Linked DNA regions of Homo sapiens: all the other regions are linked to region 3. Evidence: promoter capture Hi-C in 16 types of primary human blood cells and fetal thymus (Javierre and others, 2016). All regions are on one chromosome and are shown on one strand. The core of a region is centred on a gene start or on the middle of the fragment in contact, and the rest is flanking DNA. Distances in the headings are between cores, read along the strand shown. Region 1 has its middle 6.9 kb from the start of LINC01307. Region 2 has its middle 130 kb from the start of LINC01307. Region 3 holds the start of DPH5 (diphthamide biosynthesis 5). Region 4 overlaps LINC01307 (long intergenic non-protein coding RNA 1307). Region 5 has its middle 85 kb from the start of LINC01307. Region 6 overlaps LINC01307 (long intergenic non-protein coding RNA 1307).

Region 1 (4,531 bases), core at 336-2,835, 290 kb after region 3:
TATTCAAAGTAGCAATGAATCCAGCCTAAAGACTGTGTTTTCCATACACCTTGCAGCTAGGTATGGCCATATAATTAGATTCCAGCCAGTGAGTTTTACACGGAAGTGTTGGCTGGTACTTCTGGCAAACCTTTGTAGAAAGGGAAGAGTGTGCCTTTTTCCCTCTTTCCTGCTGTTTGGAATGTGGTTGTGACTGCTGTGGAAATAACAGCCACTGTGGACCCTGAGGCTGAGGCCCTCAGCCTAAAAGTGGAAAGGAAAGCTGAAAGGAGCCTGGGTCCCCAACTATGGCAAAACTCCCATAGCAGCCCAGGTCTGCCAATTTCTGGCTTTTGTCAGGGCTCTTTTTAACTTATTTTAATATTTTATTTCTTACCAAACACCTAGAATTCAAGAAGATAGGGCTCTTTTTGACTCTCTGTCTCATGCGGCTAAGCCAAATCCGACTGATCTGGTGTGCAATTTGTTCTCGTCCCAGCAGGAGCATGCGAAAAGCTTCTGAATGAATTTGGACCATGGCTCAGAATCGAGCCTCAAACCAACCCACTTGCCTGGTGTGAGGTTGTGTTGTTTTGTAGCCTCTGGAAACTTTGCCCTGCGAATGGCTGCCCCCCTGCCTCCTACTGTTTCCATGTGATTCCCAACCTCACTCCCTCAGGTCTCTAGTTTCTTCTACCCTTCATTTGGATTTGACTTTCTGCCTGGTGACAGACCGGCCGCCCAGCTCGTGTCACCCATGGCTTTAACACCAAACCGCTAAGTCTCCACTCCCGGCTCACTGATCTGTATGTACAAACCTTGGATACTCTCAGCTTCCTTCAGTACTGACAAAGCATAAAGAGCAGGAGAGAGACTCCCAGAAGGTCTGCTAACATATCTCTTCTCCATGAGTCAAACAGACCTGAATTTTTACATGAGGTTAATATAGTTAAGGCCACTCTGTCCCATCTCTCAGGCAGATGCGTTCAGTATTGGGTGAGCCACCAGGGATTGCCAGCCATTTAGAGCCTACTGTGGAAGGATGGGGTTACTGATTTATGGGGAAACCATTCTGCAACAGACGCAAAGAGGCCATCAGTTAAGAGAAAGCCATGGCCACCCGGCCTTGGGCTCTATCAGCGTGATCCTTGGCCGTTCAGCCTCACCCTTGGGAACTGTTCCTTTCCCAATGCTAGCCTTCATCACCAATTTAATTATGATTTCTTAGAGATGATTATAGCTTCTCCTGATGAGAACAGATCCCATCAGGCTGAGGTCCACACCTCTGTTGTTGTTACACCTGCTATATATTCTAACAATTCTAACAGCAGAGTCACCCCTGCTGTTCCCCGTAGGATGACGCTGGTGTAAAAAGGTTACCGTTGCTTCAGTGGCCCTTGGAGAGGGGAATTGGGGGTTGAGTCTTTCTCAAAGCATTCCCACATCGAGGCTTGTATTTTAATTAACCCTCAATCCTAAGCAAATATGTGATAGCCCACTTGAAGGGTGCAGATTTGCTTGCTTGGCAGAAATTCAGGGGCTCCCTTTTAAGCCGGTTGATGTTTCTCAATCTGGGTCCTTGGACAATAGCCAAACAGCAGCAGCAAGCCTCTCCTATCTGCTTGCACAAAGGTGGCACAAATTGCTACTGTTTCTATGACAACTGATGGCTTTTTTCCCCCACTTCTTAAAAGCCACCTGTATGATGGACAGCAGCATGTGGAAGAAATGTGCGAGGCAGTGACTAGCCTGGTAGACTGCCCGAGCAATGTATACCGCGATTTTATTGTCTTCACCAGTCGTGGCTCTTTGTCTCCGAGTTCTTTCCATTGTTTGCCATGCAAGTCACATAGAAGGAGGAATAATAGCTGTTAGGCTGAAGGAAGAGAGACCCCAGCAATTTGTATGCAATCTCATTTGAACTCTTGGATTTGGGAAGGCAGTTTTGCTTCCCCCCCTTTTTTTTTTTTTTTCTAAACTGCTGCTCAGCTTCTTGTGCTTAATGAGGCTTTTCAGAAGGGAAAACTAGCAAACAACAAAACATGAGTTCTGCCCTTTAAGCAATTGCTTTCTAAATTCTTTATCAGAATATAGTTGTACTATCAAGGTGAGTAAAGAATTTCTATATTTGTAATTTACAGTGCCTTACGTCAAACAAGTCAGATTGCGTGGCTCCTGTAACAGCAGTGGCATTTAACATCCCATTTCAATGAATGAGGGATCTATAGGAAAAATTAACTTTCTGAAGATAATAATTACCTAATTAAGTTAAATATTTCTGGTTGGTGGTTCCCAGTGAGAGGGCTGAATATCTTTGGAAGGGCATAAACGTCAGTGCAAGGTGTGGCAAATCTATTAGAGAATCACTATGTCGACAGTCTGAATAAATACAATGACTCCCACAGATTGGTCATTTTATTTTTGAACTGTGACTAGATACTGTTTCAAATAGCAAAGTGCAAATGTATTTACTTTTTTTCCTTTTTTTTTTTTTTTTTTTTTTTTTTGAGATAAGGTCTCACTCTGTAGTCCAGACTGGAGTGTAGTGGCAGGATCTCGGCTCACTCCACCTCCACCTCCTGGGTTCAAGCAATCCTCCTGCCTCAGCCTCCCAAGTAACTGGGGTTACAGGCATGGAGCTGGGATTACAAGCGTGCATCACCACACCTGGCTAATTTTGTATTTTTAGTAGAGACAAAGCTTCCCATATTGCTCAGGTTGGCCTCGAACTCCTGACCTCAAGTGATCCGCCCACCCCGGCCTCCCAATGTGCTGGGATTACAGGCGTGAGCCACCACGCCTGGCTGCAAATGTATTTTCAAAAGTAGCTAAATTACTAGAAGCTTCTGGCCATTATTTTTTCAGTCAATAGATACAAAACAAACATCTGCTATAATGGGGGAGGGGTATCAACAATTTTTAATGTTAGGTAAGGGTTCTTGTAGGCAAAATATCTTGGAAATTGTACTCTGTAGTTTCCCCAGATGGGTAAAGAAGTTTCAAGAACATTTTGGGAGCTAGGGTATCAGAAGTCTAAGGAGGTGTTTAGAGATTGCGTAAGCTGTCTGCGCAGCAAGTATAGAGATCACACTATAGACAGAGAGATTTAGGTAAAAAACAAGTCCTGGGTTCAAGATCAGATGGCCAGAAGGGGGCAGTGTGGGGAACAGTCTTGCATCTAGTTATTGACCCTAGCAGGTGATGTAGAGGTTTGCGTGAGACAGAGAGAACCCAGAAATAAGGGGGCTTGACTTAGAGAATCTCTCTGAGTCCTTCTAGCTTTGATATTCTGAGGCTTTGTATCATATAGCAAGCAGCTTTAAACTACCTAGGCTGATTGCTTTTGGGGGCTTCGAGAGCAGTGATGGGGTGCAGAGCATGCTACCCCCAAATATGGCACCTTGGTATATTATTTTAAGCTGCTGGAAACTGCAGAAGCAGGATGGTCACTCTCTAACCTTCTTCTGCCTTTCTCCCCCGAAGCAGACCATAAGAGAATTATCTATTTATCTTCTCTAAAAGGAGGTCTTAAGACCCTTGTTCTGGAGGGTTCCTTCCTTATACCCAGAGGGCAAGACGAATCTGAACAAACAGGACTTGCTATGTTTTCTCAGCTTATTACCATCAGATCATATCCTTTTGTCTTCCAAACTTCTACACACCTGTCCACAAAAATACAGTTTTCCCTTGTTTCTTTGGGTCTTCATTTCTAAAGCTCCCATATCATGTAAAAATTTTATTAAATTCGTTATGCTTTTCTCATGTTACTCTGTCTTTTGTTATAGGGTTCTCAGCTGTGAACTTTGGGATGGGTTAGGAAAAGATACTATTTTTTTCTCCTCTGCAGCAGAAATAATAGCAAAGTTACACAAGTTACATGGCACCTGCACTTGGTTGGAAAACTTGTGGCTTGGGAACTTTCTTGGGAACTTCATTCCGTAATAGTGTGTTATGGGTCTTCTCAGAAAAAGACTTCATCTCCTCAATTCACCCCTTTTTATTTTTAAGTATATTAGCAGTAGCAAACATTGCGTGAGGGCTCAGAACTGGAGAAACTTCTTAGTTCCAAGATTTCAGAGCAGACTCTGCAAAGGATGGGGCAAAGATGCTCTGAAGGATCCCAAATTATTAAGTGACCTTTGTATGCCTATCTGTAAAATGGGACTCAAGCCAGTGACCCCGTTTTTAAGTTAGTGGTGGTAATATTGTATAACTTAAAAAGCATTTTGCCCAATAAATGATAGTGTTCAAGCCTAAGAGTCTTAAGCTTGTTTTGTGAAACCAGCTCAGTCTAAATGATATGGCGAATAAGATAGTGGAAAAAATAAATTATAGCTTTTGAAGGCTTCTTTTTTATTGAAAAATAGTCATATTAATATTAAACTTATGTTCTCCATGACGTTCATAAAATTTGATATAAAATATTGCCAGCTCATCTGATGAATGGCTAAACCCTTCAATTTACCCAATCTTCCCCTATAATTAACATCCTATTTTGCCATTTTCTTTATCTGGGAAACATTTGCAATGAGTGCTATATAACCACTGCCTC
Region 2 (3,937 bases), core at 795-3,294, 430 kb after region 3:
GAGTTGGAAGTGCTGATTGGTTGGGTCAGAGATGAAATCATAAGGAGCTGAAGCTGTCATCTTGTGCTGAGTCAGTTCCTGGGTGGGGGCCACAAGGCCAGATGAGACAGTTTATTGATCTGGGTGGTGTCAGCTGATCCATTGAGTGCAGTGTCGGCAAAATATCTCAAGCACTGGTGATGTTAGGTTTTACAATAGTGATGTTATCTCCAGGAATAATTTGGGGAGGTTGAGAATTTTGCAGCTTCCGGCTGTGTGACCCCTAACCATAACTTCTAATTGTGTGGCTAATTTGTAAGTCCCGTAAAGGCAGTCTAGTTCCCAGGCAGGAAGGGGTTTTGTTTTGGGAAATGATTGTTATTATCTTTGTTTCAAAATTAAACTATAAACTAATTCCCTCCCGGAGTTAGTTTGGCCTACGGCCAGGGATGAACAAGGACAGCTTGGAGGTTAGAAGCAAGATGGAGTCGGTTAGGTCAGATCTCTTTCACTGTAATAATTCACTGAGTTATAATTTTTGCAAAGGTGGTTTCACTCTCATGCCACAACAATCATCAACACAGAAGAAGACTTCTGTGACTAAATGTGTGTGGGTATTTCCCCCACACGCCAAGCAGTGAATATCAGTTGATACCAGTATTCTAATTCAGTTCTGATACTATCTTTCAGTTCTGTTGCTATCTACCCTGAGATAGTGTCGGATCCCACAGGTTAAGGGTTCCCCAAGACAGCACGCCCCCAACACACACACTAGTCACAAATCTGGGCTTCTGGAATTTCTGACTGACTGTCTTCAAATTGGGGTCCTCATGACCCCCCTTTTTGATTCAATTAATTTGTTGAAGCAGCTCACAGAACTCAGGGAGACACTTACTTATGTTACTTGGTTTATTATAAAGGATATTGCAAAGGATACATATGAAGAGACACGTAAGGTGAGGTATGGGGTAAGAGGCTGTTACAGTAGGCAGCTACTCAGACATAAGCTGGGCAAGAGAGGTCCCCTTCCGCTCCAGTAGGACTGTCAGGCGACCACCATGTGATGGTCAGGCAGTTGCTAAACTGTCTCTCTAAAATCATAATTGGCCACAGCCAGTGCCAGGAAAAGGCAGTCTCCCAATAGATAGAAACATCTGAAATTGGTGATTAGCAGCTTCTCGGTAAGATATCAGGAGTTGGGTGAGTGAGCTCAAGCCTGTGTACTAAGAGGCAAAATGGTGGGGTTTAACTGGTAAATGACCTTCTAGGACATTTGACTGGTAAGGGAACATGTGCTCAACTCTAAACAGTAAACACAGAGCACGCGGCCCCTCCCAAGTGCTGGCAGGCTATGAATGCGGACAGCCCACCTCAAGAGAAGAATCCCGGGAGAAGAGATGCAGACCTCGGAAGCATGCCAATGTATAAAACCCCAGGTCAGAGGTCAAACCGCGCGCTTATCTCTCAACTAGACTGCTTGGCCCTCTTCCAAATGTACTTTACTTCCTTTCATTCCTGTGCTAAAGCTTTTTAATAAACTTTCACTTCTGTTGTAAAACTTGCCTGGGTCTCTCACTCTGCCTTCCGCTCCTCCGTCAAATTCTTTCTTCTGAGGAGGCAAGAATTGAGGTCGCTGCTGACCCATAAGGATTCACTGCTGGTAACATACTTTGGTGCCGTGTGACTCAGATACATTCCCTAGTGCTAACAGGGCAAAGAGCTTTTGTGCCCTCCCTGGGCGTGCCACCCCCCAGGAACCTCCACGTGTTCAGCTCCCAGGAAGCTCCCGTAACTATTTCTTGAGATCCTGCAGAACACAGTATCTAACTATAAGCTTAATATAGTCCAATAAATATATTGACTGATTTGTCATGTGTGCCTCTATCTCCCTTTACATTACCTTGAACTCTTGACTTCCTTTCATTTACTCAAGGTCATTCATCAGCTCCAGAGAGGATCTTTAGAGCACAGCTCTGAGAATAAGAGTGAAGTTCTTGGTTTGTGAATTGTGAAAATTTGGACTTGGGTGCTAGAGACCTTAGCCCTGCAGTGGGCAGAATTTAGGCCCTAAGTGATAGATTTGGAAGAATATGCTGTGCATCAGAGGCAGTTTTCTGATATTCAGATAGGTAAAGATTCTATGGGATGAGAGAGAGAAAACAAATCAGGAGAGAATCACAGGACATTGCCGATGTGTCTCTGAGACAGGTCCGACACTCCTCCCAGCCTCTTGGGGCTGAATCTTGATGAAGGAATAATGACGTATCCCCATATGGGTTTGGGGATCACAGCAGAGAAAGCTTGTGCCTTACTTCCTGGGTGAGATGGAAAGTTAATCATGTTTACAGTCTTGTACTGCAGGCTTAGTGTAGAAGTAGGAGAGATGGTGGCTTGTTGAGTTCTTTTGCACCATGTAGGAAGCAGCCAAAGGTTTTCTATGTCCTCAGGAGACACACAAAATGAGAGAAGAAGGTGGGAGGGAAGAGAAACAGAGAATATGTAGGGGTGTTCTTCCTGAAGTCACAGGAAAGAAGGCATCTCAGCAGATGCTAGTGTGGAGAGATGAGAACAACTTTCTACCCACTTCCTGCCCCAGCCCACAGCCTTGACATCCTGTAGGCTTCCCCTTCCCTATATTAAACCAATCTTGGAAAAAGGAGGAGAAAACTGTAATTGAATCGTATATGCCACCTGGTGGGATGGGGGCTAAAAATAGAAATTCCGTCTTGGTGATAGTGATGTTATATTTCTTGCATACCCAAGCTTTATTCCTCTGACATTTGTGAATATTCTTTCCCTCAAGCTCACCTCAAAGTCCTCATCTTTCAAGAAGCATTCTATTGCCTTTCCTCGGTATCACATAATTTCTGATTTATTTCCTCCCTTGCACAGTGCCGCTGGACTAAGAGAAAGAACATGCAGATTCTAGTTTCAGCTCTCATTTGCTGAATGTCTGATGGAGAACAACTCACTATCTCTGGGTCTCCATTTGCTTTTATGTAAAACAGTATGTCAGAGGAGGTTGTGAGTTAAAGCTGAATAATGGATGAGGAAGTGTTTTTATTATTTTTATTTTTTGAGACAATGTCTCTGTTGACCAGGCTGGAGTGAAGTGGCGTGATCTCAGCTCACTGCAACTTCCTCCTCTGGGGTTCAAGCTATTCTCCTGCCTCAGCCTCCCGAGTGGCTGGGATTACAGGCCTACCCCACCATGCCCAGTTAATTTTGTATTTTTAGTAGAGATGGGGTTTCACCATGTTGGCCAGGCTGGTCTTGGACTCTTAACCTCAAGTGATCCGCCCCCCTCAGCCTCCCAAAGTGCTGGGATTAGAGGCATGAGCCACCACACCTGGCCGAGGAAGTGTTTTGAGGACAAGAAAGTTTCAAATGCATGTAAAGTGGGATTATGGCTGCAACTCTTTTACCCTGGCTGCAATATTCCTAGCTGGGAATGTGATTTTGGTATCATTTATATATTTAAATTAGGCATGAACTACATTTCAGGATCTCTATTCCCACTCATTGAGAGGTTGAGGAAAATCCAAGAATCGAATCCCTTCTCAGTTAAGAAGTAAGTTAGCACAGACCACTTTATCCCTCAAAGAGGGAGAGAAAATAATTCCAAGAAGCTTCTTTGTTCTAAAACTTCATCTGCTCCTCCTAAAGACGATTCCTATAAGGAGAACCTCCCAACAGCTGATCTCCAGCAGGATATTTTATGTCATCTATAGTTCTTGACCCATTAACCCTTCAGATGCCTTCTGTGTCAGGAATTCGGACAGCTTCATGCTCCCAGCTGCACACCTGCCAGGGCAGAACAAAACAAAACAGGTGTACAGCTGAGTCCCCTGGTGGCAGATACAGTTTCTTCTCTTTTTCAAAAGTTTTTAAGGTTGGCCTAAGGTAGCAGGACTGTAACATAATAACACACGCACTCATTTACTTGTCCTTTCAATTT
Region 3 (4,117 bases), core at 1,146-3,645:
AGTGCACAGTAACTGTTCTGTAACTGTTCTATAAATGTCAGTACTTATTACTGTGAAGAAACAGATATTCCAGCACCTTAACAAAGTACACATAATTTACTGTAGGTAAGGCTGGGTCCAGCTTCAGGTCTTGACTCTGTAAGTAGTAACTCCAGAAGTTTTGTCTTTGGAAAAAAATACTTTACAAAATAACAGCAGCCAAAATTAACATTTAGCTAGCACTGAAAATTTACAAAGCACTTTCATATACATCATCTCAATAAAACACTACATAACCCTCCAACTGGTAATTGCCACTTGACAAATGAAGAAACTGAGGTTCAGAGAAGTTTGGAAATGTGAACATTGACAATTTCTATTTCTGAACAGTTTTGTGCCATATACCATAGTTAAGAACCTATGCTAAGAATTATGCTGAACACCTAAAGTAGATGTTTTTTACCCCATTTAAAAAAGACACTAAAGTTAAAGGACTTGTCCAAGGTCACATTAACATGTAACAAAGATAAAACTATAACCAAACTTTCCTCTATGCCATCCCCTGATATCTCATTCTATCAAACTGCTGTTTTGTTATTTGTCTGTCTTTTCTTGAAGGTGTTAAGTTCCTTTTACTTTTCCTTAATCACTGATTAGAGACGCACATTTCCATCATTTCGAGCTTAGATATTTTGGTTCTATCCTAAGAGTGAAAAAATGAGAAAAAAAAATGTTTTTTAAATCAAAGCTGGCCTTAGGCTGGGTGTGGTTGCTTGTGCCTATACAATCCCAGCACTTTAGGAGGCCGAGGTGGGCAGATCACTAGAGTCCAGGAACTTGTGACCAGCCTGGGCAATGTGGCAAAACCCTGTCTCTACAAAAAATACAAAAAATTAGCTGGGCATGATGGCACCCACCTGTAGTCTCAGCTACTCGAGAGGTTGAGGTGGGAGGATACTTGAGCCCAGGAGGCTGAGGCTGCAGTGAGCCATGATCATACCATTGCACCCCAGCCTGGGCAACAGAGCAAGACTTATTTTCTCTCTCTCTCCACATATATGTATATATCAAAGTTGGTCTTTACACACAACTTTTATTTAAATGCATGGCCAATTCAAGTAGCAGTTCTTAATTCCTTCTATAAGATTTTAAAGTAATCTGAGGCCTAAAAATTTTAAGTCTATTTTTTGTTTGGAAGACATGACAATAAATCTGCTCCCTCCTCCCATAACATATGTATTAATCCTTTGATTTACATTCTACTTAGAGTTTGACAATGAACCTGAAGTTGACCCTTCCCCCAAATTTACTGGGCCCTTATGAGGGCCAACTATAAATGTATAATATACTAACAAATACTTTGGTTACTTAGTGTATACTCATGTAAGTGTATACTCATACATTTTTATATATTAAGTCCAGGCTCACTCAATATATACAAGTGTATCAGTATAAGCCTTATTGGGAGATAGTCTATTTAAGATAAGATCTCTCTGGATAGGATACAAAAAGGCAATCGCCATTCCCTATGGACACACTTCAAAGGGGGAAGCTTTCAGCTTGGTTTTTGAATATATATAACCAACTCATTAAGGCTGTGTCAGCTCCTCATTAGCACTCAACTCAGAAAGGGTTTCTTGACTACCTCATGAAATAAGGGGTTTTGATAACTATCCCCCAGGAGTATAAAATAGCTTTCCTATTTACTGGAGAAAGCCACAAAATTAGACTTGTAAAATAGGACAAAGCACCCTTTCATTTTCCAAGTCACTTGGTTGGTGTAAAATTTCCATTCTTCTGCTCCTCAGATCATTAATGAACAAGGGATGCGTTTCAAAGGGTTTAAACAAGCAGACCTGAAAATTCTGTTCAGCTTAGTGTATGAAAATCAGATGTTAGATAGCTTTCTTCCCAGGAGGCTGGGGAACGCTCAGCACCTACCAAGGCTTCCTTCCCTACAGTTAGGACTGAGGTGTAGGCTTCCAGATACACTCGACTGCAGCGTCTAACAACTTCCAGGCCCTTGACTGTGATGTCCTTGGCATCTCCCAGGCCCAACCCGATGAGATAAAGCATTTCAAACTTGAGGAGAAGAGAGACTGCAAGACGAAGTGGACAGAAAAACCGTCAGTAACACCGAGGACATCTAAAATCTAGTGATGAACACGATGACAACCAAAGTAGCACAAGAGAAGAGGCAAGTCACAAGGAGGGGTTTGGGAACCTTATGTCACGCTTAAGAACTGGGATAAGAGGTTTTAAACAACCCTACCAGTTTTGCCTCTTGTTACACAAACCTAGGAGCAGCCAATTACCCGCTGAGAGAATCGTAGGTAGTTCTCTGGCCTTTACAAATTCTTAACTACCACCTTTCCGCAGAAGCAACTGCAAAAGCGCCGGCTCCGTGCAGAGAAAAGGCCCACGCCGCCGGCCTCACCTACGGTGCCGCAAAATGCTGGTGCCTTTACTGCACTTTACGACTAGCGGGAGGGGGCCGGGCTAGCGGGCTACTGGGCTGCGGAGACCAGAGCCCGGCTCCACTGAAGAAACCCGCCGGCTGCTGGGGCAGGGCGGCGAAAGGTCAGTCGGCCGAGAGGAGTCCGTGGAGCCACCGTTTCATAGCCTCAGGGAAAGGATCGGGCGTGCTCACGAGCCCTCTAACCCATGGCTTAAACACCCGCTTCCTAAGCCTGGGTAAGTGCAGTAGCTCTTCGCTCGAGAGGAGCCACGTGGAAGAGAGTCGGGAGGGGCCCTGCGCCCTACTCCTCCTCTCCAGAAACAGGGAGGGCTGGGAAGGATTTTCCTGATTTGTCCCCGGATTTGGCCGAGTGCACAGATTTTAATTCCAGTCTTCTCATCCTCCTGTAGTTCAACTAGGTGTCTTCCTGGTGAAGCGTGAGATTGGCAAACCCAGCAGTGAGTGTGCTTCTGATTTCCCAACAAGGCAATGACTCCTTGGGTTTGTCCCCAAGACCTTATGCCTGGAGTGCCCCAAGGATGTTTCAGTCACCCTCAGTGTCAGGAATCCCAGACCTTCCTGTACCTAAAGAAGTGACCTTTAATAGTGCTCAGGGATTTCAGACCTCTCAAGTGTTTCTGCCGGGGGAATTCTTATAAAGCTGTTGGTTACATGTAATTAGAAATAGGGAAGATTTGTTTTGACTGAAAATGCTCTTCCCAAGGTGACCTCATCCAAGTTAAAAAAGACAGCTGTCATTGCTTTTCTTAGCAGGCAGTGTTGGTTACTCAGAATTTTCCTGTTGCCTCCCCGACAATGCCCAACTCCGCTTCCTTGAACCTTGGCTTTTTTTCATTCCCAGGTTCCATCCACCTTTTTGCACTTCCTATCTATAAACTCTTCGTGGCTGTGTTTTATCCCCTCTCATTACGTTGATCTATTCCTCACACCACATACACACCCCAAAAAACTCAAAATGGATCGTAGATGTAAATGGAAAACCTAAACCTATACCAGAAGAAAACATAGGAGGAAATATTCGTGACCTTATTTAGGCAAATATTTCTTAAACCAAAAGCGTGATGAAAAAAATTGATAAATTGGACTTCAACAAAGTAAAAATTTATGCTCTTCAAAAGACTTGAAGCCACATACTGAAAATATTTACAAAGCATGTATCTGATGAAGGACTTGTATGGAGAATATATAAGGAGCACTCAGAAAGCAATAATAAAACAGTTCGTTGTTTAAAAATGGGCAAAAGATTTGAATAGACACCAAAGAAGATACACAAATAGCAAATAATTATTTTAAAAGATCTTAAACAAACAAAAAAAGATCCTAAACATCATTAGACATTAGGAAAATAAACATTTAAATCACAATGAGCTACCACAACCCACCTATTAGAATGGCTTAAGTAAAACAAACAAAACCTCACAAAAACTGGCTGTTCACTCAGAATTCCTAGTATCGCTAATATTTTGTAGATTCAAATTTCAGCCTCCTATCCAGACTTCCTCCCTCTTGGCTTCATGTTAACGTTCTGCTGGAAATCTTCACCTAGATAACCCGGAAGCATATTCAACACATCCAAGGTTGAATCCATCACCTTCCCTTTCCATTTTGCTTTTCTTTCCATATTATCTACTTGGATGGGTCGGGGGTGGGGGTGGGTGA
Region 4 (4,308 bases), core at 344-2,843, 320 kb after region 3:
CTCCACCCTAAATGGAAAACAAAAAAGAGCAGAGGTCACTATTCTTATATCAGATAAAACAGACTTTAAACCAACAACAGTGAATCCTTTACTTTCAGCCTGTGGTTATCAGTAAGTGTGAGATGGATCTCTTGAAGACAGTAGACCGATGGGTCTTGTTTTTTTTTTTTTTTCTTTTTTCTCTAATCTGCTAGTGTGTGCTTTTTAAGTCAAACTTCCAGTCTTCTAAGATGCTATCCTCCTAGTTACCCTTGGTGCTTTGCTCCTCACTTCTCCTATACTGCTGTGATAATGTCTCACCTTTCTCTCAACACTCTGAATCACACTCCATGTTGCTACCAGATTTATCTAAAAATAGAGCTGATTATACTTAGAACTTTGTTGGCTCTTTGATGTCCATTCACGAATTTATCCCAGCATCCTAGTTTAACCTGCAAATCTTTCATAGTCTGTTTCTGGCTTTCCTAGCAAAACAATTGCCTTACGGAGCATTGCATAAACCTCTGATTTTGCTTCCCTAATCATTTTGCTAGTCTTGTTTTGACACACTAAACTTTCAATTATTTGCCCTTATTAACATTCTTTTTTCTGTTTACTATGTTCTGAACTCCTTTTCTACCTAGCAAATTCCTCCTCATACTTCAATGCAAAGCCAGTGTCACCTCTGTGTAAAGCCTTTTCTGACACCTTCAGGGAGAGCTAGGTATTCCCTTTCTTATGTTCATATAACAGCTTATATATATATCTTTATTATTGCACTTATTAGATAGCATAGAAGTTATTTCTTTACTCTTCCCCCCTTTTCTAGCCATTGAGATCTTCAGGAGCCAGACTTTGCCAAATGTATTTTTTCTCTTTCCACCTTACTAGCGTGTTACATATAAATGCTCAATTAGGCCAAGTGTAGTGGCTCATTTCTGTAGTCCCAGCTCTTTGGGAGGCCAAGGCGGGAGACTCACTTGAAGCCAAGAGTTCAAGACCAGCCTGGGCAACATAGTATGACTCCGTCTCTAGGTAGGTGTGCTGATGTGTGCCTATAGTCCCAGCTTGAAGCCTGTAGTCTTCAGCCTCAGGGGGCTGAAGCAGGAGGATCACTTGAGCCCAGGAGCTCAACACTGCAGTGAACTGAGATCAAGCCACTGTACTCCAGCCTGAGTGACAGAGGGAGACCTTGACTGTAAAACAAAACAAAACAAAACAAACTCCATATAAATGCTTAATTAATGTTAATAAAGGACAAATGATTCTTTTTGCTGGCAAGATGGAAAAATTTGGATTCATAGTTTGCTGAACAGTGATATCCAGAGTGTCTGGCTTAACAGATGATTGAGACCATGCTACCTGATCTTGTTGACTTCTTTTCCACATTGAGATTTCTATTTATCTTCAGCCAATCTTTCTACCACCATCTCAACTCACCGTAAAAAGTATCTCATTTCTTCTCCATTATTAACCCATGTATTTTTACTTTCATCTTGTATCCTTTTATTTTATTTTGGAAGCATATATATAACGTTTGCCCTTCCCATTCTTTCCGCCATCTCACTCCCCAGCTCCCACGTGAATCATTCAAGAGTTAAACAAGAGAAATGGTTCCTGTCAGTGCAGGTGATGAAAGAGATCATTACAACATAACTGAAGGTCAAGACAAGGATAAATACCAGCAAAATCATGTAAGAATGATGCTATCAGGTAAGCCATGATTGTGTAAGAAAAACCAATGAAAGTTCATTTTTCCAGGACAGTTAATTTTTTGCAGTATGGGAAAGGCTATGTGTTATAATAATTTTTAAGCTATTTAGGGAGAAACTGTAATCACTACTCTACCTTGGGACACCTTCATCCTACTATGAAGCACTGGAAATGGTGGTAGGTGAGATTGATTGTATTTTCATAAGCCATGCCAGAGGCTAAATGCCTTTGCAAGAGTGGGCTTAGAAGTTATGTCAAGGAAAAACATAGCAGCTTTGGAACTGAAGGACACTAGAGAATTCTGAGAAGAAACAGAAAGTTTAAAAGGCCATGGAACCAGATGAAAGGAGAAAGGGTAGTGTATATAGAGAAAGAAGTTCTCTGAGCTGGCCTACCCAATGCCTATCAGGGACTTCCTGGAAGTCTGGCTATTGATACATTTGCTCTTTCATGCTGCAGTGAGATAAACTAGTTAATTAGAGGCTCAACATCCAGTGTTCAACTTAAAAATATATATATATTTATGTATAATATATATAAGTATAACATATATAAATTATATATATTATATATTATATAAATATATACAAATTATATACATTATATGAAATATTATATATAATATATTATATATTATATATTCTATATATAGAATATATTATATATTATAGATATAATATGCATATATATACTTTTTTTGAGACAGAGTCTTGCTCTGTCGCCCAGGCTGGAGTGCAATGGTGCAATCTCGGCTCACTGCAACTTCTGCCTTCTGGGTTCAAGTGATTCTTTTGCTTCAGCCTCCTGAGTAGCTGGGATTACAGGTGCCCGCCACCACGCCTGCATAATTTTTGTATTTTTAGTAGAGTCGAGGTTTCACCATGTTGCCAGGTTGGCTTTGAACTCCTGACCTCGTGATCTGCCCACCCAGGCCTCCCAAAGTGCTGGGATTACATGCATGAGCACTTTGCCTTGCCTAAAATAATTTTTATCATGTTAAACATATATAAAATAATATTTTTCATTCTAATCATTTTTAAGTGTACAGTTCAGTGGGACTAATTACCTTTACAATGTTATGCAATCATCAGCACTATGTCCAAAACTTTTTCATCAACTGAAACAGAAACTCTATAACCATTAAGCAGTAATTCCCCTATTTTCCATCTAGCCCCTGGTAATGTCCAATTTTATTTCTGTCTCTTTTAATTTGCCTATTCTAGCTACCTCATGTAAATGGAACCATACAATATTTGTCCTTTTGTGTTTGGCATATTTCACTCAGCATGTCTTCAAAGTTCCTCCACGTTGTAAAATGTATCAAAAAACTTACTTCCTTTTTAAGGCAGAATAATATTTCATTGTATGTATATAATACATTTTGTTTATTCATTTATCTAGTGACCATTGCCCAACTTTATAATTCCCCCACATGTAGTATCTTATTACTGGTATCTCTGAGGACAAAGCTCTCTGAGCCTTCTGGGTAATTCTGTATGTGTGTGTTCTTTCTAGTAGGAAGGTGGGAACACAAGATGCCATCTCTCTGCCTCTCACTTTATTTCAGTGTGGGTGTTGGATGGCAGTGTGAGCATCCACTCATGAAGATCACTTGACAAGAGACACAGATGGTTTTCTGTCTTTCCTCCCTTCTTTCCTAACAGGCACTTCCTGTGGCCCCAAGTGGAGGAGTCTATTGCCTGGTTTGCCTCTCTTTCAACTCTCCCTCTGTCCCCACTTATCCCTTGCTCCTGGCATCCTGTCTCTGCTCTGTGCTAAGTGATTTATCAGAAGTCACCTCATTTGCTTTTCTTTCTTTTTCTTTCTTTCTTTCTTTCTTTCTTTCTTTCTTTCTTTCTTTCTTTCTTTCTTTCTTTCTTTCTTTCTTCTTTCTTATCTTTCTATCTTTCTTTCTTTCCTTTTTCTGAGATGGAGTTTCACTCTTGTTGCCCAGGCTGGAGTGCAATGGCACAATCTCAGCTCACTGAAACCTCTGCCTTCTATGTTCAAGCGATTCTCTTGCCTCAGCCTCCCAACTAGCTGGGATTACAGGGATGTGCCACTATGGCTGGCTAATTTTGTATTTTTAGTAGAGACAGGGTTTTACCATGTTGGTCAGGCTGGTCTTGAACTCCTGACCCCAGATGATCCACCTGCCTTGGCCTCCGAAAGTGTTGGGATTACAGGTGTGAGCCACTGCGTCGGGCCTCATTTACTTCTTAAAGCACCCTCTCTGACGTGTAAGTATCAAGTCCAGGTCAAGACATTTGCTTTCTGCCCCATCGTTTTACTTCGAAAACTCTTTTGAAGGTCACTAATAAAAGAGGTCATTCTGTCCAATGGCATTTTCTTGATCTTCATCCTTGTCTTTCTGTCTAGAGTATGAGACCTCACTTACACCAACCCTTGGAAACATTTTCCTTGTTATCTGTATATCCTAACCCTTACCAAGCTATAATCGCAACAATAACCTTTTATATTTGAATTATTATGCTTACCTGTAGGAATTCTAGTGTTTCACTGAATTTTCTTTCCCAACATCTTTGGAAATTTCCAGGGAATTATTTTATGTTTCATAGATTTTTATTCTGTCATATAAATTCTGTTTTATTCTGT
Region 5 (4,068 bases), core at 671-3,170, 380 kb after region 3:
CTGTGATTAAGGACTATTTCTACAATTCAAAGAGCTGTTCTTAAATAGTAAAGCTGTCATCTTGATTCACTGCCAACCCAAGGCCTTGCTCAAAATGAATGATTTTGCTCCGTATTTCTTAAAGTATATTCTCCTACATTGTTAGAATGATAATCACTAAATACTAAATGCTTCAATAAAGTGTATAATGTGCTTCACATATTGAGAATATATTTATAGGAATCTTTATAATTTAGTTGTATAAGTTGGGCAAGTTAACCTCTTTGTGTCTAGGTTTTTTATTGTGTAAAATGGGGATAAGTATTGTGGACAAGCCTCACAAGTCCTTTTTTTTTTTTAAGTAATTTCTGATAGTTCTACCTTTAATTCCACCACTTTCCTCCATTCACCAAAGATTTGTTATAATATTTCTGCTATTTACAGGATTCTCCAGGTTTTTCCTACAGATGGAGACAGTTCCTACAGTAGAAAGTGGTAATTTATGTGTGACGTGACCACTAGCTGGCCTTACCAATGTGTCTTTTTCATGCTTTAACTGTAGTTGGGTCAAAAGTTGGAAAACTGAGGTGATGAAATCTGTCAGAGAAGCATAGAACTATTATTTTGTGGCAATGTTAAGTGATTTTTAAAAACAGATGTTAATTGAGGTCCAAGCAGTAAATTAGTAGTTAAACCTCCCTTAGGTTTTACAAAGAGAGTTCAAGACTGACTTAAGATCCCTGTCCTGGATTAACATGAAGTGAGACTTAAAATTAGATTGCCAAGAAGGTAATGTATCACCAAAGGGTCAGGTGATATATGACCAAAGGGTCAAGGTGAAAAGAGAAGGTGATATATCACCAAAGAGTCAGGGTGCACCTTGTTTGCAGTGATATTTGTTGGGGCAGCTCTTAAAAACGAGCAAAGGTCAAAGTTGTTAATGAAGCTGACCCCACAGGTGTGAAGCTTGTAGGTTTCAGTTCAGTTTTACCCTTCAGAGATCAGTGACAGCCAGCCCTAGAGGCACCATCTGCAGCCCTATGGGAAAGAGGTCTGATTTAGAACATGTGGGAAAGGAAGAAGTACATTTGAATTTGAAAGTTGACTTAATTATATTCTCTGCTTTCAGAGAGCTTCCCCTTTGCACATCTCACCCTTTTTCTTACCCACGCTGCAGAACTATTTTGGCATATGTTTTACCCCAAATGACTGGTTCCTATTTTCAATTCTGTATCTAGTTGAGAGATACAGATGAGGGGTCAGGAAAGTTATTCTATGGTTTGGAGTCTTGCCAGGCTCAGTTGATATCTTTGACAAGAGCAAGGCTACTGCTCATTTCTGATGTCCCTGTCTGGGGAGCTCAAAGTGCTGTGTAGATGTTGTCTCATTCATTTTACCTGAGGCAAGTTGGAGGCATGCATCAGTGTAAAATTTTCTTTAAAGCTTCATTCATATGAGTAAGAAATAGATAAAAGGAAAATACTGCCTATGAGTCAGAAACAGATATATTTAAGAGATGACACTGAAAAAAGCTAAGGTTTTAATAATATTTTTGCCTTATTCTCTTGGGACAGATGAGGAGGATATAATCACAGGGCAGGTTTCACTGAGGAAGTTGTTATAAAGGGCAAGAATATAGTGCAGTGTTTAGTTTAAAGAGGGCAGCTTATAGCTGTATATCCATTCAATATATCCCAGAAGATTGGCGATAAATTTAAGACAATGTCTCCAAGTTGATTGGGCATATATTTCCAGCTTTGCTGCCTCCATTCTTTTGTTATTGGCCAACAAACCTCCTATTTTAATTTTTTATTTTTGGATAGAATTAACTGGAGACACTGTAGAATCTTAAACTTTTATGATGCTGTTTTTTCTGCCACATTATAAAAGTATTAAATTAAGAATCAACAAATGTAAATTACTTTTTGTTCTGCTGCTGTGAACCTTGAGTGGGAGCAATACTAAGCATCTTAGACCTGAGTTCCTTCATGTATAAAATGAGAAGGAGGAACCATATCACCTCTAAGATCCCTTCCAGCTTTGCAGTTTCCAGAAGTAAGAACATGTTCTATTACCTGCCATGAAGAAGAAAACATGGGAGAATATGGGAATCTTCTTTTCTGAAATCTCCTTTGTATGATTTTTCTTTCTCTCTTTTAAAATCATAGCTATAATTTTAAAAATCTCATTTAAAACTCTCTGTGTTTATTGTAGAAAAAAGTTAGAAAATATAAATAAGCAAAAATAATGTAAGAACTATGCATAATATCACTACTCTTGGATAATTACTGTTAACACTTTGGTAGACATTATTTCTGACTTTCTTTCTGAAAACACACCCATAAGCACACATATCCTTTAGTTATGCTAGTGACATCTTGAAGGATATTAAGGCTAAGTACATTGAGAAAACTTTACTACTAGATGTTCAAGATGTACCAAGCTTGGAAGATGATACAGAACAGTCCTTTACTTTCTCCTCTGAGTTATGTGTCAGTTCATCCAGGTTTGCCTCAGATGGGCTCCCTCTGGGCTCCCTTTTTACCATTTTTTCTCTCTGCTAGTTTATTGGTTTCCACTCTTGAAAAGGTGGTGTCAGGGCCTTTCATTCTGTGCTTTATTTAGAAGGGATGTTTTGTAAAAATCAGAATTAAACATTTACAGGCAAAAAACCCTTTGATTATATTGATGCCTTTTATAGCAAAAATGTAATACTTTACTAGTCTAACAGATTCTCTCTCTCTTTTTTCCTACCTTAAAAAGGCACAAACAAAACAAAACAGAATGAAATAATAACTGTAACAACAACAATAACAATATAAGAAAAAACAAAACACAAAATTCCTAGGAAGCAGTAGAAAAGAAAATAAAGAGATGAGGAAGAGCTCTGAGCTCTGACCTGCTTTATATTTACATATGTAAATAGTGTCTCAACATACATCCTATCTCAACAATCCATTTGAAAAATGTGATCATATTTTATACAACTTGAAACTCATTTTTTCACATAATAATCATAAACATCTTTTCAATCATCTGATAAATGTATAGATTATATTTTAATAGTCAAATATTGCTACATTACATATAACTTATCTAACCTACCCCCAATTATTGGACAGTTATTACCTTGTTTTTGCTGATACAAACAATAACAGGCTAAAGTAATTATATAATTATTAATGTCTGGGTTTACAGCCCTTTACACTTATGATAGGTATGTGGAAAATATATAATCAAAGTCATGGCAGACATTACTCACAGATCATGACATTAAAGCTGAGCCTGTCAGCACAGTGCTCAATGTATCCACAAATAATTGATTGGAGATGACAAGCTGGTTGAAGTCTAGGCTGCTGTATCTCTGTGAGTCTTCCTATTGCTAAAAACAGGAATGGAGACAGGTTGGGGAAAATGGCAGATATGAGGCAGGACTAAACTGCAGCTCCCATTCAGACAGAGAGCAGCATGTGGAGACTCACATCGTGAACTTTTGCTCCCACATCTATCACAGGAACATACCAGGAAATCTGAGAGAATTCACAGACCCTCTGAAGGAAGTGAATCACTCTTGCAGGCCCCGAGAGACAGCCAAAGTGTGAAAGTGTGAAAGGGGGATCATCCACCCCCAAACACACACTCTCACTGGGGAACCTGAAGGTTCAGATCACAAGAGAAGGATTTGACTTTACCCGGGGTTGAGACAATTCTAGAAAGCTGAGCAAAATACAAGGGTAGAAGAAGCAGCTAGAAGAGCCCTGTGGCTCTCTTGGTCCCCAGGGAAACCATTTCTGACTTTGTCTCACAGAGGTCCTTGGGGAGTGCTGCCAGAGGAACTGGGAAAAGACCACAGGGAGGAAACTTTTAGCTGAACTGTGTAACAACTTCAACTGAACACAAAGTTTCCTGGATGGAACTTGAGGGAGGGGTGAATCTGGAGTGCAGACACAGCACAGAAGCTGTGGCAGGTGGGGAGCCATGAAACCTGAAAGCCCTGCTTGCTTTTACAGCTGGAGATTGGTAGCCTGGAGCAAGTTATCAGCCCTGTTCACCCACTGCCTGGAAACAAACTTGGTGCTGTAGAGGGGG
Region 6 (4,378 bases), core at 1,777-4,276, 340 kb after region 3:
CAGCCTTAGAGAACTTCAGGGGTCTTCTGGTTGCAAGCCCTTGTTGATCTGGCACTAGGCTGGAGCTCCAGAGGCCAGGGGAACTGCTGGGTCAGGGGCTATAGAAGGACAGTATCTCCCTAGTTTCTCCTAAAAAGGAAAAGAGATGAGCTGTCTGATGCTGAAATGCAGTGTAATTGTAATAGGAAACTGCCCAAGCAGTGACAAAAAAGATCACAGGACATATAAGGAGATGGAAGGATTAAGGAAATTGTCCATTGGCTCTTTCTCCAAGTGCTCTGCTGATTTTTCCACTCTGTTGTCACCTGACCTCTCCTGTTGTGCAGCTCAGCATCTTAAATTGCAAAGCTGGCTTAGTCCCATGAAGGGTTTCCAACAAGATAAGTTTTTAGGAGGAAAAGGTAGACGTTAGGTGAGCAGGAAAAGGCCTCTAAGTCCCTCAACATTTGGGAAGTCCGTTTGTTTGGGTCCAGAGGGGGATAAGGAAGCTGAAAGGATGTCTACTCCATGGGAGACAGGAGACAGGACACAAGGTGACATTAGAAAAGGGAGGATGTCCTGCAGACGGAGCTTGGAGGGGATGCCAGGATGGAAGAGCCATAACAAGAATGTTAGTGTCAGAAAATAGGAATTTACTAAGACAAACATAACTCTTAGTTCTGAGTGTGAGCTCATGGAGGACCTAGAAGGAGATGCCAGCGTTTCAAAACCACAGTGGAAAAGCTGGATACCATAAGCCTGGGCTCGGAACCACATAGCTTTGGAAAGACAGCTTTGTGCTGTGTTTCTTGAGTTTGAGGGCTGGCCTCTGGGTTTTGCCCCATTCTCCTTGGAACTACACTTACCTCCTACTGTGCTGGGAATAAAAAACAAATGGTTAAAGAAAGAAACAATTTAGTCTCCACTACTGATTTTAAAAAAATAAATATCAAGTGACTGAGTGCTTTCTGAAGTTTAAAACTCTACCTTTACGTGGGTTAATAAGAACATTAGGACATAGCAAATGCTGCTTCCTGTGGGTCCTGCCTGATTGGAATTGAGTTTTTAAGTGGCCAAATCTGCTTGGGTTATTCTGCTTATGTAAGACATGACCCTGAAAGTGGATACATTGATATTTTAGTCTCAAGATGTATTTTTAATTCTCTAGTGATTGACTTATGCTTTGTCATTTACCAAGTACCCGGTATTAATAAATGGAATAAGTTGGACTAATGGTGCATCACTGAGGAATGGGGAGATCTGACTTCTTGGTAGGTAAAGACTTTTAATCCTTTTTTTTTTTTTTTTTTTTTTTTAAGATAGAGTTTCACTCTGTGGCTCAGGCTGGAGTGCAGTGGCGTGATCATGGGTCACTGTAGCCTTAAATTCCTGGGCCTTCTACATAGTTTGAAATATGCTTAGTAATTTCCCAAGGGGCATGTCATGTAGGTCAGATGGGAGGGTTCTCTTTCTGTGATTTTTTTTGAAGATTAATGTTTGTTTAACATGTTTGAGTTAGTATGCGATGACCAGGAACACAGAGAATCATTTGACCTTTAAAAGGTCAGGATGGAATAATGGCCTATTAAAGCAGTGGTATTTATCACTTTGAACAAAAAAGCATCAATGGAAAGATCCTATCGTCTCATAACTAGGGTAGATATTTCAAATTGTGTATGTTCAAAAACTGAAGCTACCTATTGAAGTGAAATTATACAAAGTCTGGAATTTTCTTTAGCATTTTCAAGCGAAATAGAAAAGGTGGAGGTAGACTAGATCAGCAAGATGATAATAACTGTGAAAGCTGTGTGACGGATAAACAGGGACTCATTATACTTTGTTCTCTATTTTTGTGTAATTAGATTTTTTTTCTATAATACATTTTTTTATAAAAAAGTCAGAAACTAGGGACCAGAGAACTAGATAGAATCTTTGGCAAACTCTAGAGTCCTAACCCAGGAGAGCACCCTGATTTCATAAAGGTGCTGGTGAATCATATGTAGCAGAAACATGTAATGACCAGGAGTCTAGGCTGTCCTAGACAGGAGAGTCAGAGATGGTGGCCTGGGCAGGAAGGCAGGCCTCAGAGAGAGAAGCCAAATATGCCAGGCTACAAGTGCTTATTGCAGTCTGACTGTCTTCAAACTGGTCCATTTTCAGTTAGAGTGGAGAAATTGAGGCTCATGGCCTGCATTTCTGTATTTTGCATGAGGGTGATTGTAATAATTATAATATAGTTCAAAATTAACTGTTTACATTTTTCTGTAGGAAAGCCTTCCTGGTATTTATTAGAGGACAAGTTAATCATCTGTAATTTTCCAGGCCAAAAAGGAAAATGATTCAAGGCAGATGGAATTTTGCCAGTGAGACAGCTTGGTTCTGCCCAACCAGACACCATCTCTTTTGAATAAGAGTTTATGATTTTTCTCACAGGGGAGCTTTGAAAGTTAGGGAGGTACTTAGAGGTGCTACTTTCCTTCTGTTGGGCTTCTAAAATAATAAAGAAACATCCTGGGAAACAGAAAGTTTATTAAAATGTCAGGGGCTTAAAGCAAAGTTACTGATGAAATTATGGTTCTCTGGTTATCATTCCAGACTCTGGAAGTATTAGAGTCTGGGTTTTGGAGTTTGATTTTAAAAAGTATTGATGATACAGAACTAGGTGCATGCAGTCCAAAGCTTTGTAGAGGAAGGATTGTTCTCCCACTAGTTATATGTCTTAGAGGCCAATACTACCCAGTACACTTCGGGTACAAGTTCATATAACAGCTAATAGTTACTGCGTGTTTACCATGTGTTAAGAACTGTCAATGCAAAGTCAGTTACATAAAGGCTCTGGGATGAAGCTCATTAAGAAACATGCAGCTAGCAAATGGGAGAGCTGAGACTAGTGCACGGTGTGACATTAAAACCTATCATGATGCTCAGCTAGCAATCAACAGAAGTTTCTCATGTTTCTTTTGCAGTCTCCTAACCATTTCAGTCTCTGTTCCCTCCTCACCAAGAAGCACCAATGCTAGAAGTGAGAGAGAAAAGTGCTATTTTGCTCCCAGAGAAGCCCAAACAGAGAGCAAAATGAACAACAATGGAGCACAGCTCAGATAACGAAATGCAGGACAGAGGACATACACTGGGGACACGTGCTAGCCCATTAAGAACTTTGAAAAGCAATTCTGTGGGCCTTTTCTTGCCGCCCTGCCCTGTGAGCTTTCTGCTTTCTGTGATTTGACTGTGGTGTCTGATGAAGCCCAGTGTTCAAAATGGAAATTAAGTACAAGGGCTCAGTGACAGATGTTCCTTTTTGCCTTGAAGGAAGATAAACACGTAGTTTAATAGACCAAAATGTATGCGTTGGATTCTTCAGAGGGTAAGCATATAGATGCTCCCGCCCCCTCCAAATAGATCTTGTTTATCTAAAGCTTTGCTCCCAGTTGTCATTAATTGCAGATGACAGTCTCTGCCTTTGCCAGCCTGCTAGATGGTGAGTGTTGTGGCTTTTTAACCTGAAGTTTCATCTGGTCAGGGCCTGAAGTCAGACTTGATCATGGCAGCTGGAACATCATGAAGTAGTCTTGCTCTAGGCAGCTTGTTATCTTTGGAGTAACTGGGGTACGAGTGAGTCTCCCAGGCCTTGGGGTTCTTTTATCCTCCTATGCATGTGGCCTGTCTCTGGATTGCACCATAGTTCCCCCGCAGAGGCCAACATTCTGCCTAGCTCCCGAGGGTCTGGACCTGTCTACTGTACTCTCATATCTTGGCTGAGTCTTGCGCTAAAATCTAACAAATCAGCTGGGTACAGTATTCTTCTACCCTGCTCCATCCCACCCATCAGCAAACCCCTTTGAGCACTGACCTTGATTTTTGGAATGACTGGGGCCTGGGATATGGACTACTAGCCACCTTTGAAGCAAATTCCTGTGCTGACCACTCAAGCCACTCTCATTTATAATTTTTCTTGACTCTTTCTTCTTTCCACTTACTACCGTACTCTGGTCTTTCCCCAATTCATCTCTTATTTCAAATTTGTACGGTTCATTCATTCATGAGTTATTTTGGGGAGCTCCACCTTCCATGTGTCGGACACTGTGCTAGGTCCTGATAGATCAAAGATAAGTAAGTCGTACCTCCTCACAAGCAACTTACAGTGTAAGGGAGCATCTAGGCTTCTAAATAGATGATCACAATGTAACTTGATGAGCACAAGGATCCATATATGTGTGGACAGAAGATCATGAGTGGGGAGGGGCATATAGCTCGACAACCCATTTAATGCAAGAAAGACTTGGATATTAAAGAATGGGATGGACGTAATGTAAAGGAAACTCCAGACAGAGAGCAAATGTGAGCAAAGACTTGGAAGTAAAAACAACACGTTGAATGTAAGGAACCATAAGCATTT

Evidence for each region. Contacts are between HindIII fragments. The CHiCAGO score rates a contact against its expected background, and 5 or more counts as called.
Region 1: a contact is called between a fragment that was not itself captured here and the fragment with the promoter of DPH5 in region 3, in 1 of 17 cell types (non-activated CD4 T cells). The highest score is 7.4, in non-activated CD4 T cells.
Region 2: a contact is called between a fragment that was not itself captured here and the fragment with the promoter of DPH5 in region 3, in 1 of 17 cell types (total B cells). The highest score is 5.2, in total B cells.
Region 4: a contact is called between a fragment that was not itself captured here and the fragment with the promoter of DPH5 in region 3, in 3 of 17 cell types (activated CD4 T cells, total CD8 T cells and non-activated CD4 T cells). The highest score is 7.9, in activated CD4 T cells.
Region 5: a fragment that was not itself captured here is called in contact with the fragment with the promoter of DPH5 in region 3 in 2 of 17 cell types (total B cells and naive B cells); the score reaches 12.3 in total B cells.
Region 6: a fragment that was not itself captured here is called in contact with the fragment with the promoter of DPH5 in region 3 in 7 of 17 cell types (activated CD4 T cells, naive CD8 T cells, total B cells and 4 more); the score reaches 9.6 in activated CD4 T cells.

Annotation. Positions count from the first base shown.
Region 1 is chr1:101,314,718-101,319,248 of GRCh38, forward strand. No RefSeq gene overlaps it. Among named protein-coding and RNA genes, the nearest start is that of LINC01307, 6.9 kb to the right of the region's middle. The HindIII fragment of the contact is 2,184 bases long and covers 494-2,677 here.
Region 2 is chr1:101,451,544-101,455,480 of GRCh38, forward strand. No RefSeq gene overlaps it. Among named protein-coding and RNA genes, the nearest start is that of LINC01307, 130 kb to the left of the region's middle. RefSeq lists enhancers at 872-921, 1,291-2,490. The HindIII fragment of the contact is 466 bases long and covers 1,812-2,277 here.
Region 3 is chr1:101,023,389-101,027,505 of GRCh38, forward strand. DPH5 (diphthamide biosynthesis 5) reads right to left here and starts at 2,396. Exons shown (of 8, transcript NM_015958.3): 1 at 2,295-2,396; 2 at 1,921-2,078. The coding sequence starts at 2,055. DPH5-DT (DPH5 divergent transcript) reads left to right here and starts at 2,458. Exons shown (of 5, transcript NR_109849.1): 1 at 2,458-2,673. RefSeq lists enhancers at 1,926-3,125, 2,218-2,327. The HindIII fragment of the contact is 3,765 bases long and covers 1,530-4,117 here.
Region 4 is chr1:101,348,494-101,352,801 of GRCh38, forward strand. It overlaps LINC01307 (long intergenic non-protein coding RNA 1307), which reads left to right. Exons shown (of 5, transcript NR_126402.1): 4 at 1,554-1,692. Among named protein-coding and RNA genes, the nearest start is that of LINC01307, 27 kb to the left of the region's middle. The HindIII fragment of the contact is 6,334 bases long and covers 1-4,308 here.
Region 5 is chr1:101,406,851-101,410,918 of GRCh38, forward strand. No RefSeq gene overlaps it. Among named protein-coding and RNA genes, the nearest start is that of LINC01307, 85 kb to the left of the region's middle. RefSeq lists enhancers at 3,401-3,450, 3,471-3,520, 3,821-3,900. The HindIII fragment of the contact is 1,000 bases long and covers 1,421-2,420 here.
Region 6 is chr1:101,364,684-101,369,061 of GRCh38, forward strand. All of the region lies in intron 4 of LINC01307 (long intergenic non-protein coding RNA 1307), which reads left to right. Among named protein-coding and RNA genes, the nearest start is that of LINC01307, 43 kb to the left of the region's middle. The HindIII fragment of the contact is 740 bases long and covers 2,657-3,396 here.